2 separate regions of the Homo sapiens genome follow, and region 2 is linked to region 1. Evidence: promoter capture Hi-C in human tissues and cell types (Jung and others, 2019). All regions are on one chromosome and are shown on one strand. The core of a region is centred on a gene start or on the middle of the fragment in contact, and the rest is flanking DNA. Distances in the headings are between cores, read along the strand shown. Region 1 holds the start of PSEN1 (presenilin 1). Region 2 overlaps FAM161B (FAM161 centrosomal protein B).

Evidence for each region. Contacts are between HindIII fragments. The study calls those that stand out against the background at their distance.
Region 2: a fragment that was not itself captured here is called in contact with the fragment with the promoter of PSEN1 in region 1 in 1 of the 25 tissues and cell types used here (spleen).

The regions. Positions count from the first base shown.
Region 1 is chr14:73,133,993-73,139,424 of GRCh38, forward strand. It overlaps PSEN1 (presenilin 1), which reads left to right and starts at 2,515. Exons shown (of 12, transcript NM_000021.4): 1 at 2,515-2,591. RefSeq lists silencers at 2,295-2,374, 2,635-2,694 and an enhancer at 2,865-2,974. The HindIII fragment of the contact is 9,269 bases long and covers 1-5,358 here.
Region 2 is chr14:73,938,956-73,944,200 of GRCh38, forward strand. FAM161B (FAM161 centrosomal protein B) reads right to left here. Exons shown (of 9, transcript NM_152445.3): 4 at 3,414-3,760; 5 at 1,971-2,098. Among named protein-coding and RNA genes, the nearest start is that of FAM161B, 8.5 kb to the right of the region's middle. The HindIII fragment of the contact is 9,683 bases long and covers 1-5,245 here.

The DNA.
Region 1 (5,432 bases), core at 1,265-3,764:
CCATCCGGATGTATACGTGAAGGCTTGGGCTCAGAGGCCTAACAGTAGGACATAAAGAAAATGAGAAGAAAATTATCTGAAGGCTGGTTATTCAATGTTAGGGTTTGCTATTTTTTTAAAATCTTACTGCCTTTTTGTTGCAGGACTTTTTTTTTTTTTTGGGAAAAACAGAGTCTCACTGTGTCTCCCAGGCTGGAGTGCAGTGGTGCAAACTCGGCTCACTGCAAACTTTCCTTCTCAGATTCAAGCCTCAGCCACCTGAGTAGCTGAGATTACAGGCCCACACCACCATGCCGGGCTAATTTTTGTATTTTTAATAGAGACGGGGTTTCACCATGTTGTCCAGGCTGGTCTTGTACTCCCAACCTCAAGTGATCCTCCTGCCTTGGCCTCCCAAAGTGCTGGGATTACAGGCATGAGCCACCGTGACCAGGCGTTCATGAAAAATTTTCATGACATTCTGTGAGGTGGGTGGACCATAATTTATTGTACCACATTTATTTATTTATTTATTTATTTATTTATTTATTTATTTATTTATTTTTATTTTTTGAGACATAGTTTCGCTCTTGTTGCCCAGGCTGGAATGCAATGGCGCAATCTCGGTTCACTGCAACCTCTGCCTTCCAGGCTCAAGCAATTCTGCCTCAGCCTCCCAAGTAGCTGGGATTACAGGCATGCGCCACCACGCCTGGCTAACTTTTTTTGTATTTTTAGTAGAGACGGGGTTTCTCCATGTTGATCAGGCTGGTCTCGAACTCCTGACCTCAGATGAGCCGCCCACCTTGGCCTCCCAAAGTGCTGGAATTACAGGCGTGAGCCACCGCACCCTGCCTATTGTACCATATTTAGTTTCCCAATTTTTTGCTATATAATATTCCATGAATATCTTTGCCCAAAATTTTTGTAGATTGTTTCTAAGAATAGTTCATCAGCATTTTAAGACATCCTATTAATATTAGCGGACTGCAATCAGATTGAAGTAGTTCACAAATAGATGGGTTTTAGCCTGTATTTGTTCAATACTGAACTATTGTATGTATCAGGCACTGTTATGTATCAGGCACTGTTCTCAGCACTTGTAAAATGTATATGTGCTGCTGACAAGCATGAGCACTTGTAAATGAACAAACTAAAATCCCTACTCTTGTTAAAGTGGGGGAGGTGAAGAATTTTAAAAACATCTTTTTTCGTTCAACCTTCTCCCACAACTTATCTTTCATTCTGCTAATGGAAAATATTACTTTTGTTCTTAAATATGAAGCTTTTGTGTGTAAAAAGTATTAGAATCTCATGTTTTTGAACAAGGTTGGCAGTGGGTTGGGAGGAGGGATTGGAGATTGATGCGATAGGAATGTGAAGGGATAGCTTGGGGTGGATTTTATTTTTTAATTTTAATTTTTATTTTTTGAGATGGAGTCTTGCTCTGTCTCCCAGGCTGGAGTGCAGTGGTGTGATCTCAGCTCACGGGTTCAAGCGATTCTCCTGCTGCAGCCTCCCGAGTAGCTGGGATTACAGGAGCGCGCCACCACACCCGGCTAATTTTTTTGTATTTTTAGTAGAGACGGGGTTTCACCATGTTGGTTAGGCTGGTCTAGAACTCCCAACCTCATGATCCGCCTGCTTCGGCCTCCCAAAGTGCCGGAATTACAGGCGTGAGCGACTGCACCCGGCCGCTTGGGGGTGGATTTTTAAAGAAACTTTAGAAGAATGTAACTTGCCCAGATACCATGTACCGTTAATTTCATTTTCGGTTTTTTGAATACCCATGTTTGACATTTCTCCGTTCACCTTGATTAAATAAGGTAGTATTCATTTTTTAGTTTTAGCTTTTGGATATATGTGTAAGTGTGGTATGCTGTCTAATGAATTAGACATTGGTACTGTCTTTACCAAAACTGGACAAAGAGCAGGCAGATGCAAAAATCAAGTGACCCAGCAAACCAGACACATTTTCTGCTCTCAGCTAGCTTGCCACCTAGAAAGACTGGTTGTCAAAGTTGGAGTCCAAGAATCGCGGAGGATGTTTAAAATGCAGTTTCTCAGGTTCTCGCCACCCACCAGAAGTTTTGATTCATTGAGTGGTGGGAGAGGGCAGAGATATTTGCGATTTTAACAGCATTCTCTTGATTGTGATGCAGCTGGTTCGCAAATAGGTACCCTAAAGAAATGACAGGTGTTAAATTTAGGATGGCCATCGCTTGTATGCCGGGAGAAGCACACGCTGGGCCCAATTTATATAGGGGCTTTCGTCCTCAGCTCGAGCAGCCTCAGAACCCCGACAACCCACGCCAGCGCTCTGGGCGGATTCCGTCAGGTGGGGAAGGCCAGGTGGAGCTCTGGGTTCTCCCCGCAATCGTTTCTCCAGGCCGGAGGCCCCGCCCCCTTCCTCCTGGCTCCTCCCCTCCTCCGTGGGCCGGCCGCCAACGACGCCAGAGCCGGAAATGACGACAACGGTGAGGGTTCTCGGGCGGGGCCTGGGACAGGCAGCTCCGGGGTCCGCGGTTTCACATCGGAAACAAAACAGCGGCTGGTCTGGAAGGAACCTGAGCTACGAGCCGCGGCGGCAGCGGGGCGGCGGGGAAGCGTATGTGCGTGATGGGGAGTCCGGGCAAGCCAGGAAGGCACCGCGGACATGGGCGGCCGCGGGCAGGGCCCGGCCCTTTGTGGCCGCCCGGGCCGCGAAGCCGGTGTCCTAAAAGATGAGGGGCGGGGCGCGGCCGGTTGGGGCTGGGGAACCCCGTGTGGGAAACCAGGAGGGGCGGCCCGTTTCTCGGGCTTCGGGCGCGGCCGGGTGGAGAGAGATTCCGGGGAGCCTTGGTCCGGAAATGCTGTTTGCTCGAAGACGTCTCAGGGCGCAGGTGCCTTGGGCCGGGATTAGTAGCCGTCTGAACTGGAGTGGAGTAGGAGAAAGAGGAAGCGTCTTGGGCTGGGTCTGCTTGAGCAACTGGTGAAACTCCGCGCCTCACGCCCCGGGTGTGTCCTTGTCCAGGGGCGACGAGCATTCTGGGCGAAGTCCGCACGCCTCTTGTTCGAGGCGGAAGACGGGGTCTGATGCTTTCTCCTTGGTCGGGACTGTCTCGAGGCATGCATGTCCAGTGACTCTTGTGTTTGCTGCTGCTTCCCTCTCAGATTCTTCTCACCGTTGTGGTCAGCTCTGCTTTAGGCATATTAATCCATAGTGGAGGCTGGGATGGGTGAGAGAATTGAGGTGACTTTTCCATAATTCAGGTGAGATGTGATTAGAGTTCGATCTGCGGTGGTGGCAGAGGCTTACAAGAAACACTAACGGGACATGGGAACCAATTGAGGATCAGGGAATAAAGTGTGAAGTTGACTAGGAGGTTTTCAGTTTAGAACATGGCAGAGACATTCTCAGAAATAAGGAAGTTAGGAAGAAAGACCTGGTTTAGAGAGGAGGGCGAGGAAGTGGTTTGGAAGTGTCACTTTGGAAGTGCCAGCAGGTGAAAATGCCCTGTGAACAGGACTGGAGCTGAAAACAGGAATCAATTCCATAGATTTCCAGTTGATGTTGGAGCAGTGGAGAAGTCTAAGCTAAGGAAGGGGAAGAGGAGGCCAAGGCAAACACTTAGGAACACTTGCAACGAGGGGGTGGAAGAAGAGCAAGGAGCCAGCTGAGGAGAATGAGTGTGGTTGGAGAACCACCACAGCGCAGGGTCGCCAGAGCTGAGGAAGGGGAGGGAAGCTTCAGGAAGGAAAAGGTTGGCAGGGATTTTGAGTGTTAGGCCTGGTGTAGCAGAAGGAACAGAAGATTTAGAGCAGCGCTAGCCAATAGAAATAAAATGTGAGGCCCGGGGCGGTGGCTCACGCCTGTAATCCCAGCACTTTGGGAGGCCGCGGGGCGGATCCTTGAGCTGAGGAGTTCGAGACCAGACAACACGGCGAAACCCCGGCTCTACAAAAAATTAGCTGGGCGTGGGGGCGCGCGCCTGTAGTCCCAGCTGCTCCCAAGCGAGGCTGAGGCAGGAGAATCACTTGAACCCGGGAGAAGGAGGTTGCAGTAAGCCAAGATTATGCCACTGCACTGCAGCCTGGGCAAAAGAGTGAGACTGTCTCAAAAAAAAAAAAAACCTGTTTTGTTTTTCTTTTGGAGAAAAGGCATACAAATTTATTAGCATGCAGACTGGGAGAACCACAAGGTGATTATCCCTATTTTAAATTTTCTAATAAACATACTATTATTTATTTATTTATTTATTTATTTATTTATTTATTTATTTTTTGAGACGGAGTCTGGCTCTGTCGCCCAGGCTGGAGTGCAGTGGCGCGATCTCAGCTCACTGCAAGCTCCGCCTCCCGGGTTCACGCCATTCTCCTGCCTCATCCTCCCCAGCAGCTGGGACTACAGGCGTCCGCCACCACGCCCGGCTAATTTTTTTGTATTTTTAGTAGACACGGGGTTTCACCGTGTTAGCCAGTATGGTCTCGATCTCCTGACCTCGTGATCCGCCCGCCTCGGCCTCCCAGAGTGCTGCGATTACAGGCGTGAGCCACCCTGCCCGGCCGGCTATTTATTTTTTTAGAGATGGGAGCCTCACTATGTTGCCCAGGCTGGTCTTGAACTCCTGGAGTCAAGTGATCCTCCCGCCTTGGCCTCCCAGAGTGGTGGGATACAGGCACAAGCCACTGTGCCTAGCCATAAACACATTTTTAAAGGTAAAAAAAGGCCGAGCGCGGTGGCTCACCCCTGTAATCCCAGCACTTTGGGAGGCCGTGGCGGGCGGATCATGAGGTCAGGAGATCGAGACATCCTGGCTAACACGGTGAAACCCCATCTCTACTAAAAAATACAAAAAAAAAAAAATTAGCCGGGCGTGATGGCGGGCGCCTGTAGTCCCAGCTACTCGGGAGGCTGAGGCAGGAGAATGGCGTGAACCCGGGAGGCGGAGCTTGCAGTGAGCGGAGATCGCGCCACTGCACTCCAGCCTGGGCGACAGAGCCAGACTCTGTCAAGAAAAAAAGAAAAAAAATGTAAAAAGAGGCTGGGTGGCCGGGCGCAGCGGCTCACGCCTGTAAACCCAGCACTTTGGGAGGCCGAGGCGGGTGGATAACCAGATCAGGAGATGGAGACCATCCTGGCTCACGCGGTGAAACCCCGTCTCTACTAAAAGTACAAAAAATTAGCCAGACATGGTGCCAGGCACTTGTAGTCCCAGCTACTCGGGAGGCTGAGGCAGGACAATGGCGTGAACCCAGGAGGCGGAGCTTGCAGTGAGCCGAGATCGCGCCACTGCACTCCAGCCTGGGCAACAGAGTGAGACTTCGTTTTTTTTTTAAAAAAAGGCTGGGCACAGTGGCTCACACCTGTAATCTGCCAGCACTTTGGGAGGCCGAGGCAGGTAGATCACCTGAGGTCAGGAGTTCGAGACCAGCCTCGCCAAAATGGTGAGACCCTGTGTCTACTAAAAATA
Region 2 (5,245 bases), core at 2,198-4,697, 810 kb after region 1:
TTCCTACCCTAGAAGTGCATTTACTGAACTGGAGAAACGTCAGTTAAAATATCCTTACTTAGGTCGGGCACGGTGGCTCATGGCTGTAATCTCAGCACTTTGGGAGGCTGAGGCGGGCTGATCACAAGGTCAGGAGTTCGAGACCAGCCTGGTCAACATGGTGAAACCCTGTCTCTACCAAAACTACAAAAAAAATTAGCTGGGTGTAGTGGCACGTGCCGGTAATCCCAGCTACTTGGGAGGCTGAGGCAGGAGAATCACTAAACCCGGGAGGCAGAGGTTGCAGTGAGCTGAGATTGCGCCATTGCACTCCAGCATGGGCGACAGAGCAAGACTCTGTCTCGAAAAAAAATATATATATCCTTACTTAAACAGTCCAACATTCAATAGGTCTTCGCCTATCTGGATACAAAATAATACTAATAGCTACCATTTACTGAGCTCCTTATTATGAACCAAGTACCATTACATTTCACATTGTCCTCATAACTGCCTTATGAGGTAAATACTAAATTCCCTTTTTATAGGGGAGGTGATTGAGGCTCAAAGGAGGTAAGCCCCTTGCTCAAAGCTACCCAGCATGCCAGTGGAAAAGCCCCTATTGGACCAGGACCTCTGACTCCGAAGCCTCTGGCCTTGACCACTCTGCTGGAAACAGTGGGCTGGAAGGTGTCTGGGTTCATGGTCCTTTGGGAATACAAATCTGCACATTCAGAGAGAACTGGAAATGAGCCTCCCTCAGTGCAGACTATTTGGGTTCAACTTGTAGCACTTAGTTTGTTCAGTTATCTACAAAGTAATATGTTGAGTTCTTCCAAAAGGAAAATCAACCAAGACTCTTATATTTGGATGTTTATATTCAAATGGACATACTGGGAAGAAGGACATGAAAATTTAATCTGTTAATATGTCAGATTCCCTGTGGCTGGAAAGCAGATGTGGATGTCCTCTATAGGAAGGCCAGCCTCTTTGTTCAGGAGGCCTGTGTTCTTGGGCCCTCAGGATACTGAGCAATTAATTAGCCCTGATTTAGTAGGTCTAACTGAAGTCTGAAGAAGAAAGGAGTATCCCTTGGACCGTAAATACTCTTCTACAATCCCTGCTGTGGGGCTTAACGATCCAAGTAGGTTCTGAGTACTCCCCTACATGCCCCATGGGAAGGCAGTAAGACATTAGTCCTCTCCCTGGCCTAAGCTGCTGTTACACCATGACCTCTCTTGCCTACTTCAGCTCAGAAGCCTGGTGGAAGAACCCTTGCTGGGGGCTGGCTTAATGAGAACATCATAACAGAATCAGGTCAGTTGAAGAGTTAAAAATAAGCAGGCTCTTGCTGCCCAACAGACTCTGACATCTTCCCAAGATGAATCTCAGAGAATCTCAAATCTATGCAATGGATGTCTCATATTTGCGGCAACTTCAGCCACCTGCTAGCATGCTTCTCTGAATTCTTGTTCCTCACTACTCCCTTCCTCTCACCCATGGGCTTTTATCCATGTTCTCTCTGTCTGGAACCTTCCTTCTCTCCAGGCTTTGTCTGGCGAACTCTTCCTTGTTCTTCAGTTTCACTTTAGACATCTATTCCACAAGACAAGACCCCCCTGCTCCAGGCTGCCCAGTGCCCTCACAGTCCCCTTTACCCCCCATCATTGCACTACTCAAAAAATATGGCCATTGCTTCTTTGCTTTTCTGTATTTCAGACTAGATAATAAACTGGAGGTTCCCTAAGATCTCCAGCCTTAACACTGTGCCTGGCACAGAATAAGCCCACTATGAATATGTGCTGAATGATGGCTAGCTGTTCTCCAAGCACCAGGTGTGGAGAACCGCAATTGTTCCAGTCCTGATCAGAAAATTCCCTTTGACCCCTTGAGGTATCTCTGATAACAGGAAAGGAGGCCCCTTGGCAGGGAGGTTTCCAGCATTTGGGGCCAGAATCAGAGCATGGGTCTCGTGCAGCCTGACCACTCACCTGACTGCAGATTCCCTCTTCCTGGTGGCATCTGTGATGTGCACAGGGAGAGTGTTGGCAGAGAGGGAAGCAAGGCCGCTCAGAGAACGACTCCTTGGCAGGGGTGTAGCTGGTGGCTGTGGGGAATCCTAGAAGAAACAAAGGTTGGTATTGGTGGGACAGCATGTGTGATTAGTTTCTATCTTTTTTTTTTTTTTTTTTTTTTGAGACAGAGTCTCGTCTCGCTCTTTTGCCCAGGCTGGAGTGCAGTGGCGCAATCTCGGCTCACTGCAACCTCCAGCTGCCTGGTTCAAGCAATTCTCCTGCCTCAGCCTCCCACGTAGCTGGGACTATACAGGTTGTGAGCCACCATGCCCAGCTACATTTTTGCAGTTTTAGTACAGACGGGGTTTCACCATGTTGGTCAGGCTGGTCTCGAATTCCTGATCTCAGGTGATCCACCCGTGTCGGCCTCCCAAAGTGCTGGGATTACAGGTGTGAACTACCGCGCCCAGCCATTTTCTATCTTTACTAGGATTCAGCTTCACTGAAGGACTGAAAATGAGAATCTTCATTTTTTTTCCTGGGAATAAGGCAAGGATAAAGAGATCTCAAGTTTCACAACCAAGCCAAGACTTGGATATCAATCCTAAAGTTTTTAGTCAAATGAGAAGAGTTCCTTGGAATTGGTATAGAGACATCAACAACTGATCCCAACTCCTTGCCTCTCAAGCCTGCTTGGACTTATTTCTGTGAAATCCTTCTACAGTAAGGGAGGAAAAGAAGTGTCCCTATGGTTTCTGTTGTGTTCTGTTTTTGAGATGAACTTTCACTCTTGTTGTCCAGGCTGGCCTGCGGTGGCACAATCTCAGCTCACTGCAATCTCCGCCTCCCAGGTTCAAGCAATTCTCCTACCTCAGCCTCTGAAGTAGCTGGGATTACAGGTGCCCGCCACCGCACCCAGCTAATTTTTGTATTTTTAGTAGAGATGGGGTTTTGCCATGTTGGCCGTGCTGGTCTCGAACTCCTGACCTCAGATGATCTGCCCTCCTCGGCCTCTCAAAGTGCTGGGATTAAAGGCGTGAGCCACCACGCCTGGCCTGTTTTTTGTTGTTGTTTTTAGATGGGGTCTCACTCTGTTGCCTAGGCTGGAGTACAGTGGCATCATCTTGGCTCACTGCAGCCAGAAGGTCCTCCCACCTCAGCCTCCTGAATGGCTGGAACTACAGGTACACACCACCACATGTGGCAAATATTTGTATTTTTCTTTTAGAGATGGGGTCTCTGTTGCCCAGGCTGGGCTGTGGTCTGGAGTTTATAGGAAAGTGAATCTGCTTACAACTGAGCTGGTGTTTAAAAAAAAGATAGGAAAACCTTGTTGAGAAGTGCTTTCCAGGAAGACCTGGCCCCACCCTGTATTTCAGGCCGCAGCCCTGACCCTCCCACAGCTGCCTGGGCTCTCACCTGCCTCCTTCCGGTGGTGGCAGCATCACAGGGCCGCTGAGGGTGGCGCAGGTTGGCGGTCCTCAGCAAGAAGGGCTTGTTGCGAGTGGCCTCTTGGGTTTCTCTTCTTTTGGCTGCTCTTCTCTGGAAGGCCTTGTAAAGGCCCTCATAGTCAGGGACCACAGGATTCACCCGAGGCTGGAATCTGAAGTTAGTGTGCAGAAACCCAAGCTTTTCCTGCTGGGTTCGGGTGGCTGTGCGGGGCTGTGGGTTAGCCCGGTTACTAGAGGAGGCGATAGGGGAAGAGGCCATCTGGAGCATGTCCAGGGCTCTCATTTGGATGCGAATTTTCCTGAAGAGCTCAGCTTCTGTGGAGAAAGGATGGTGATGGGTAAGAAAGGACCAAGCAAGAAACCTACAGGGTTGGAGAACTTTCCCTCTTTTACACACTAGCTGTAAGTGTTACTGGAGGCAAGTAGGAACTTTTCAGGAATTCTGACACGTTAACATCCTGTGAGATGCCTGCAGATGGCCTGAATAGGAGTAATTATGCCACAGAAAATAACAAACATTACAAACCAGCTTCCTTTTTTTTTTTTCTGGAGAGCTTGTTAATAAATGTCATCCAGAACACCACTGCCTGTGTCAATCAGGCTGCAGAAGCAGTGACCATCTACACTTACTGAGCACTTTCTATGATTGCTTCTTCAGAGATGAAGCAGAGGAAGTGGGCCAGTAACCTGCTCCTCTCCCAGGTTTCCCCATCTGAGAGAAAGGCCCTACCATCCACCCAGCTGCCCAGGCCCTTTGCCCACATCACTGACTCCTCCGTGTCTCTCATCAGTCACAAGTTCTGTCATTTCCTCCTCTTTAACCTCTCTCCAGTCCATCCTCGTTTTTTCATCCCTGCAACCAGTTGCACAATTTCTCTACTGAATTGTGAAATAGCTTCCTCTTGGCTCAACATCCCTCCAGTCTTGCTGCCCTCTCAGATTATCTATACAGCAATCAGAAGGATCCTTCTGAACTATATTTCTGATCATGGGCCACCCTGCCTCACTCCCTCAGTGGCTTCCCTGTGCCCTTGGGATGAAGTCCAGACTCGCCAACGTGGCTTGCAAAGCTCCTCATGTCTGGCCCATGCCTGCCTCTTCCTTCCCACTCCCTCTTCTCTCAGCCCTCGACCTTTCCATCCCTTGCAGATGCTCTGCTTTCTCTCCCCTCCATGCCACATTCTGCCTGCTCCACTTCTCCTCCCTCTTCGCCCCTCCTTCAGTTCAGCCCCAGGGCCCACTTTCTCAGGGGACCTTCCCTAACTGCTCCCTTGCTTCACCAATCCCCGGGTTAGGTCCCTTTGATATATGCTCCCATGCTTCCCCTTTTAATCCTTGTAAATAACTCGCCACATTTGTATGTATTTGTCTTTATCTGTTTTCCTCACATATCTACAAACTCCATGTCTGTGTGTTCACCATGGCACAGTGCCTGGAGCATGGCACATGCTACCGAAAAGTGAATAAAGCCTGAGCCCCTTATTTGGAGCTATACTTTTGGAAATGTGTAAATAATCATCCCCCAGGTAATTTCGGCGATTGACACTACCTCACCAGGACGAAGGAGCCATGGGGGAGCATCTCAGGGCAGTGTGCTGGTGGTGGCATGAGCCCAAGCTGGTCCTCAGGTGTCTCACTGGTTCTCTATTCCTGCACCTGTGCTGGTGCAGAGGCCCTCATGTGCATTCACTTAGATGTCAACAGGACGAGCCTTGGGGACACTGTGGGACCTCTCACTCCTGGCACCATACAGGTCCTGATTGTATAGACAGACCTAACCCTCCCCAATGGCCTGCACTA